Linked DNA regions of Homo sapiens: region 1 is linked to region 2. Evidence: promoter capture Hi-C in 16 types of primary human blood cells and fetal thymus (Javierre and others, 2016). All regions are on one chromosome and are shown on one strand. Each heading gives the region's core, a stretch centred on a gene start or on the middle of the fragment in contact. The rest is flanking DNA. Distances are from core to core; before and after follow the strand shown. Region 1 overlaps KCNJ8-AS1 (KCNJ8 antisense RNA 1). Region 2 holds the start of SPX (spexin hormone).

Region 1 (4,100 bases), core at 440-2,939, 140 kb before region 2:
AAACAGTTTTGGCAACTTATTCTGAGTTTAAAATTAACACAAAATAAAACGTTTTTTAAAATCACCCTTACTTTTAGTATTTTGATATTATTAAAGCAAACTAAATATGGCCCGAGAAAGACTCCATACTTCTATATTTGAGTCCTTGTGGATGAACTGTAACCTAGCTTAGTAGTCAGACAAAATTGAAAACGTAACTTCAGAGTATGCATCTGTAACTATAGCTAAGTCTTGGCCATTCCAGAGGCCATACTTCAACCATTCATACACTGATGAGTGTTAAAACTGTGTTCAAATAAGGCAAACACCGAGCTGTAACCAATCCAGCCATTCTGTACCTCACTTCCAATTTCTGTACGTCATTTCCCTTTTTTTTTGTCTGTAAGTCTTCTTCCACCACATGGCTGCGCTGGAGCCTCTGTGAATCTGCTGAGATTTGGGGGGGCTGCCCGATTCGCAAAACATTCATTGCTCAATTCAACTCCTTTAAATTTAATTTGGCTGAGTTTTTCTTTTATCAGTATTGAAATAACAATGACATTGTAATTTCAAACTGGTCAAAATAATACATCAGTTAGGACCTCTTTTATCGTCAGTGAAGTTTGCTTACCTAAACTAGCCTAGGGACGAGGCTGCATTATGTTGCCTTTTTTTTTTTTTTTTTTTTTTTTTTTTGAGAGAGAGTTTTGCTCTGTCACCCAGGCTGGAGTGCTGGAGTGCTGGAGTGCAGTGGTGTGATCTCGGCTCACTGCAACCTCCGCCTCCCAGGTTCAAGCGATTCTCCTGCCTCAGCCTCCCGAGTAGCTGGGACTACAGGTGCCCACCACCACCCACCATGCCTGGCTAATTTTTATATTTTTAGTAGAGACAGGGTTTCACCATATTGGTCAGGCTGGTCTTGAACTGACCTTGTGATCTGCCCGCCTCGGCCTCCCAAACTGCTGGGATTACAGGCCTGAGCCACTGCGCCCGGCTTACGTTGCTCTTGATGCAGAAACTCGAATGCCATCACTGGCTTCTCTTTTGCTGTCTCTCGTCTTATTCCCCTTGTTTGGCTCCAGTTTTAGATAGGTTTTTCCTTTGGGAAGCTTTGATGTATTTAAGGAGAGGAAGAGATGAGAGGATAGAAAACCCCGAGGCTGTTTTCAGAAGTAAAGTGAATAGTTGCTAAGTAGAGAAACAAAACAAGAAGAATGCTCACTTTGGTAGAGGAGCAGATAATGGAAAGTTTAAAAAATGTGAAAGTATACACAACCAATAATCATAGTTATACAAATTTATAACAAAACATCACTTTTTTTCCTACTGCCTCTATAATTGCAGAAGAGAACCAAATACCCTTTTCATCTGACAAACTGGACAAATAAAATTTAGTAATATGCAATATGATGACAGTATAGTAAGACATATGCAGATGGGGTTTGGAATCAAAGGGTACAGCCCTTCCAAAAAACTGTTCTACTCTTTTACCCAGGAATTTCACTTTCAGAGACCTACCCAAGCAATGACAAATACAGATGACTACAATGTACAATGATATCTATACAACATTATTTATCATAGTAAAAAGCATAATGTCTCAAAATATGGGAACAGTTAAATACATCATGGTGTTTCTGAATGATTGAATATTTAGTAACCATTTTTTAAAAGGAAACAAATCTGTATAAATCTGTATGTTAAGAATGATCCGGCGGGGTGCAGTGGCTCACACCTGTAATGCCAGCACTTTGGGAGGCTGAGGCGGGAGGATCATCTGAGGTCAGGAGTTTGAGGTCAGGAGTTTGAGACCAGCCTGGTCAACATGGTGAAACCCTGTCTCTACTATAAATACAAAAATTAGCTGGGCATGGTGGTGGGTACCTGTAATCCCAGCTACTCAGAAGGCTAAGGCAGGAGAATCGCTTGAACCCAGGAGACGGAGGTTGCAGTGAGCACAGATTGCACCACAGCACTCCAGCCTGGGTGAGAGCGCAAGACCCTGTCTCAGGAAAAAAAAAAACAAAAATTTAAACACAGAGAGAGAGAGAGAGAGAGAGGGAGAGAGAGAGTCTGCTTACTAGTTGTGTGATCTTGGTCAGGTTATTGACCTTCTGTGATTCAGTTTCCCCATATCCTTAAAATAAGAAAAATAAAAGTACCCACCACATAGGGTTGAAATGAGGATTACGTAAGTTAATATAAGTAAAGTAAGCATTACTTATACTTGGTTCATGTGAGCACATTATTACATGCAGTTAATGCATTGCATGCCTGGCACATAGTACTATTTTCAATAAATGAAAGCTTTACACAAATCATATAATACAAATTCCTGGATGTGTATTGCTTTGCAGGACTCTAACAAAACTTTAGTCAAGTGAACTCTAGGGTTTTCTAGCAAAAAAATCTCAGTAATAACACTTTCCACCTCACAAATTAATGTATATTTAAAGGACTAGATACTCATGCATATTTTAAATGAGCACAGGGAGAGAAAGGAATCAGCAGCTGGACTTTCGGACTACAACTCAAGAAGTCAGAAAGAATGAGTAGTTGCTCTGAGGATCAGGACTGGGGATGAGAGAGAGGCGGCGGACTGTTTTTTTTTTTCCTTTATTTATTTTTTTTGATACAGAGTCTCACTCTGTCACCCATGCTGGAATGCAGTGGCGTGATCTCAGCTCACTGCAACCTCCACCTCCTGAGTTCAAGCGATTCTCCTGCCTCAGCCTCCTGAGTAGCTAGGACTACAGGCAAATGCCACCACACCCAGCTAATTTTTTTTTTTTTTTTTTTTTTTGAGACAAAGTCTTGCTCTGTTGCCCAGGCTAGAGTGCAGTGGCATGATCTCGGCTCACGGCAACCTCTGCCTAGGGAGTTCAAGTGATTCTCCTGCCTCAGCCTCCCGAGTAGCTGGAATTACAGGCGCCCACCACCGTGCTTGGCTAATTTTTGTATTTTTAGTAGAGATGCGGTTTCACCAGCTTGGCCAGGCTGGTCTCAAACTCCTGACGTCGTGATCCACCTGCCTCGGCCTCCCAAAGTTCTGGGATTACAGGCATGAACCGCCGCACCCCGCCCATGCCCGGCTAATTTTTTGTATTTTTAGTAAAGACGGGGTTTCACCATGTTAGCCAGGATGGTCTCGATCTCCTGACCTCGTGATCCACCTGCCTTGGCCTCCCAAAGTGCTGTGATTACAAGCTGGCCGGGACTGTTTGTTTTATTACCAGCATTTGCATTCTGATTAACCTTTTATTTTCTAAAACATAAACTAAACAAATAAAAAAAAATCTGTGTTTTGAAATGTGTACAGCTAGAACATAGAAAAGCTACTATCTCCTTCAGGATCTCTGATATAAGAAAGTAAGTATTTGCAACTGCAGTCCTTGGCACCAGAAAGGATAATAGTTCATGGTTCCAGGAAGGGGAAATATAGATGCCATCAGACGACTTCACACAATGCCCAGAGAATGTAGACTAGGTGCTTCTGTTCCCAGAAGCAGCACCCAGACAATGAGAAGAACACCATGTGGAAAGAAGTGGGGCAGTTCTGGTTTCTAATGGGCTCTGCTGATCTTTCAGCTCCTCTGCCTGAAAGCTCACTTTCAGACAAAAACTATGAACTTCAAACTGTGTATAATTCACTATACATGCATATTTTATTCTCTGTATAACTCTAGCAAGGCTGAACCCCTAGCAAGTCAAAGGCTTACCTGAGGTGCCCTTCCCAGATTTATCATGTCCCCCGGGTAGTGCGTCCGGAATTGGTAGGTTCTTGGTCTGACTGACTTCAAGAATGAAGCCGCCGACCGTCGCGGTGAGTGTTACAGTTCTTAAAAGCCGTCGCGGTGAGTATTACAGTTCTTAAAGGCGGCGTGTTCGGAGTTTGTTCCTTCTGGTTGGTTCGTGGTCACACTAGCTCAGGAGAGACGCTGCGGACCTTCGCGGTGAGTGTTACAGCTCTTAAGGCCGCGCGTCTGGAGTTGTTTGTTCATTCTTCTTGGTGGGTTAGTGGTTTCACTGGCTTAAGGAGTGAAGCTGCAAACCTTCGCGGTGAATGTTACAGCTCATAAAGACAGTGTGGACCCAAAGAGTGAGCAGCAGCAAGATTTATT
Region 2 (4,067 bases), core at 190-2,689:
GCGACCCTCTGCAAAAACGAGACCTGGGGCTCAGCGACAGCCTGGCCCGGGACAACCCGGGCTTAAACCTCAGCTCCTCCCGGCACAGCGCAGTCCCCGGGCGTGGGGAGGGGGCAGGTTGCTCCAGGATAGGGTCGCGCGGGGCTGCCGAGTTTCCAGCGCTCCCAGCGCAACCCCGGGCTGAGCCAGGGGCCCTGGAGCTCTGGAGGAAAGCCCCGCGCCTGACCGGACGCCGCAAGGGCGCTTTGGAGCGGAGGTCGGGTTACTGAGATATTTCCCAGGCAACCCGAGTCCCCATTTGGACCAAGAGAAGCAACCCTCCAGTTTTGGATGGAGAATTTCTAATAAGGATGGAGGATTTCCAATAATCAGGGACTCTTCCCCTCTCCCACCCCTCCCTCACCTACCGGTCTCTTTGATGGCCTCGATGATTTAAGGGAATAAACTCGACATTATTCTCTCTCCATAACTCTCCATCTATCTGTTCCTGACTCCTAGGGGTCTTCCATTATTGTAGGAAGAGCGAAATATTTGGAACTTACGTGCCCCTTTCAGGTAGAGCATAGCTTGAGGAGTCCAGTTCCTTCTCTCCAACAGTCTCTATAGCCCGGGGGAAGGGAAGAGCAGTTAATAAAACATTGCAGCTCAGTCCTCTATTACAGCAAAATAAAGGAAAAAGAAGAGAATAAAACAAGAAGGAAGAAAGAAAGAGCAGAGTGGACACACAGTGCGCATTGTTTTAAAATTTTTTATTTTGCATTTGATTACCTGCGGAGCGCAGCTGGAGTTTCCCAGGAAAACAAACACCAGGAAAAGAGCCAAGGTTGTTGCTGCCAGACTTCTGAGTCCCTATATGAAGCGATCAACCAGAAAGGGTCATTTCTGTGCCAATAGGATCTTCTGCTTCCTTCCTTGACGCCTGGACAATTATAAACCCCCTTACTTCTCGCAATATTCTGTTTTAATACTCAGTTTTCTGGAGGTGTTTCCCTTCTACCTTCTAGTTAATTCACAAAGAGTCCACTTGAAAAAACGTATTTAGAAACATATTATTTGTATTACTTCACCCAAATGAAGAATAAGTAAATACGTGAATTTTTTTCTTAGTAAAATCAAATGATTCTGTTATTCTAAAGGCGTATCGTTCAAATATCCTTTAAACTCTAAAATCCTTATTAAACATGAAATAGGTAAAATGCTATAAAACGTTTTAAAAAATAGCTAAGAAGTCTCAAGTTAATAAAGCCTTTACTTACCTTCATGTTCTGCGTCTTTTCAGAACCCTGAAATAACTATAACTTTATCTGTGAGTTTTCGACTCTTGCTCTGAAATTGGAGCTTTTAAAATCTTGGTGTTAAGGGCACCTCCCCATCTGGAGTAGAGTTTGGGAGTCCACAGGGACATCTTGTCAGTCTTCAAGCAAGATTGAGAATCTGATGACTCCTCCAGGGAGCTTCATTGCAGGAAGTAGAGGAATGATTGATGGGCAGAAATTATTTGTTTAAATACTGATTGCATCACCCAGGAGGCCTTCAGAATGTGTCAGCATCATTGGCCTTGCTTTTCCTACTAGCTGCCCAAAGTAACATGTTATTATTATTATTAATGAAAACAATCAATAGTCCAAGGCAGAATCAAAAGTAAAAGAATAAATCAGAAAACTTTTCTTGGGTAACTAGCCATCAGTCTATCACTGATGGCTAAAGATGTATGAAAAGGTTTGGGAATCTCAATGGAATTTGACATCAGTCATTCACTTAATTATCAATTCATTCTGTTGTTTAGCAAATATTTATTGAGTGCCTATGAGACACACAATCCTTGTATTTCAAGGGACACAGCCATGCACTGAAAAGACATGGTCTCTGCTTTGATCTAAGTTACCTACTAGTTAAGGTACACAGTAAACTGATGAATAGATAAATAAGACACAGTAGTTACCCCTTAATCGTAGGTGTGTGTGGGGTGGAGGAGCATGTTTCAAGACCCACAGTGGATGCCTGAAACCACTGATACGTATATGCCTTATTATACTATTTTTTTTTATCTGTTCACCAAGATGGTTACTAACTGATTAATGGGAGAGTGGTGTTTACATATGGACATGCTGGACAAAAAGATGGTTCATGTCTTGGGTGGGCTGGAGCTGGACAGTGAGAGATTTCAACACCCTACTCAGATTTAAAGCTCACAATTTAAACTTATTAATTCTGGAATTTCCCATTTAATATTTTCAGACTGTAGTTGACCATGGGTAACTGAAACCATGGAAAGTGAAACCGTGGATAAGCAGGGACTACTGTAACTACAGAATGTTTTAAATTGTTAAGTAAAAGTAAGCAAGGTGATGTGATAGGATAAGTGGTGGGCTACTTTAGGGAAGGTTAAAAACAGAGGGTAGTCTTGAAGGATAAGGTGAAGTAATGGGAGAAGCTGGGCAGGAATTAGTATTCCAGGCATTCTCAATAGAAGAAAGAAAAGCAAAATCTGTGGACAGCAAAGAGCATGACTTGCTTGGGGACTAGGAAAGAGGCCAATGGAGGCAGCGTTGTGTGGGTGAACGGGGGAGGTGCTTTGAAATGAGATTGGAGAAGAAGAAATGGGCCAGTTGATGTGGAAATACGATTATAAGCAATAGATGATGATGGCTTACACTGGGATGGTACACACAGGGAAAGAAGAGCTGTAAATGAATTTGGAATACATGTTGTGGAGGTAGAAAATATAGAACTTGTATATAAAAGGGATATGAAAGTGTGAGAAAAATAAATCAAGGATGATTCTTAGGTTTATGGATAAAACTGTGGGTAAATTATGAAGTAATTTACTGAAATTAGAGAAACTTCTTAAGAAGCAAGTTATGAGAGGGAAATTAACACTTGCCATATAGGCATATTAAAATTAAAATGTATATTAAAAATATCCAAGTACAAGTACAAAATAGAAGGTTAGAAATGCAAAACTTGATAGAGGTCAGCCAAGAGGTCACCAGCCTACAGATTTTCTTTTTGGTGGGGGGCAGAAATGATTAGCTTTAAGAATTTTAAGAATTCTAAGAATTTTACAACCAGTAAAGGGATGAGATTAAACACAACACTTAGGGAGTGAATAGGGCTAAAGAAGAGTGGCAGGGACAGAGCTATGAAAACAAACGCATAGAGAATGAGCAGAGGAAGAGCCAGAAAAGGAGGTTGAGGTAGAGTCAGAAAGAAAGGAGAAATTCCAGGGGACCCTGATATCATGGAAGCCAAGTGAAGATCCAGTAGTATTGGGAGGTCAAGCAACATTAGCTCCAAGAAACATCCACTGGATTTGGAATATGATGGTTTTGAGGATAGAAGCAAGATTGGAGTTGGTTGAATAGTGAATATGATATGATAAATTAAAGCCAAGAATAAACAATCTCTTTTACAGATGTCACAAAAGAAGGGAAAGGAAAAAATGAGAATTTTTTTTACTGTTATTATTATTGTTATTGTTATTTTAAAGACAGGGTCTCACTATGTTGTTCAGGCTGGGCTGAAACTCCTGTCCTCAACTGGTCCTCCCATGTCAGCCTCCCAAACCTCTGGGATTATAGGCATGCTTGGCCTGTGAAATCTTTTTTTTTTTTTTAAAAGATAAGATAGAAGATTTGTTATACTTTTTGGGAAACCTTTCATTTCTAGGAAATTCCTAAAATTCCCTGAATTATGAATTATGAAATTATGAATCTTTTTGGGAGGCAGAGTGTTTCTTCTATTGTACAAACTGAAAATGCCAGATAGTCAGTTTTCTAGCCTCCCTATCAGGGAGAATGTGGGCATATGACACGGGCTTCACCAATCAGATGAGCATGCTTAGATGGGGAATCTCATGCCAGGATGGAAGAAGTGCTCGGGTGAAGCAGGGGTTGTAGTAAGATTGAGTTTCTGGAGTAGTCTTAGCTACGGTGCTAGTGGCAAGTTCCAGCATCCAGTGCTGTAGCAGTGGTGATGCCAGCTGCAGTGTCCTTTTAATAAAATCTTTGTTTTGCCCAAATCAGCCATGTTTATTGGTTTCTGTTGATGTGACAACTAAGAAACAA

Evidence for each region. Contacts are between HindIII fragments. The CHiCAGO score rates a contact against its expected background, and 5 or more counts as called.
Region 1: a contact is called between a fragment that was not itself captured here and the fragment with the promoter of SPX in region 2, in 1 of 17 cell types (megakaryocytes). The highest score is 6.1, in megakaryocytes.

Annotation. Positions count from the first base shown.
Region 1 is chr12:21,662,370-21,666,469 of GRCh38, reverse strand. KCNJ8-AS1 (KCNJ8 antisense RNA 1) reads right to left here. Exons shown (of 5, transcript XR_007063241.1): 1 at 3,699-4,100. Among named protein-coding and RNA genes, the nearest start is that of KCNJ8-AS1, 2.1 kb to the right of the region's middle. The HindIII fragment of the contact is 1,198 bases long and covers 1,091-2,288 here.
Region 2 is chr12:21,523,668-21,527,734 of GRCh38, reverse strand. SPX (spexin hormone) reads right to left here and starts at 1,439. Exons shown (of 6, transcript NM_030572.4): 1 at 1,257-1,439; 2 at 769-849; 3 at 543-600; 4 at 1-8. The coding sequence starts at 1,262. The HindIII fragment of the contact is 15,623 bases long and covers 1-4,067 here.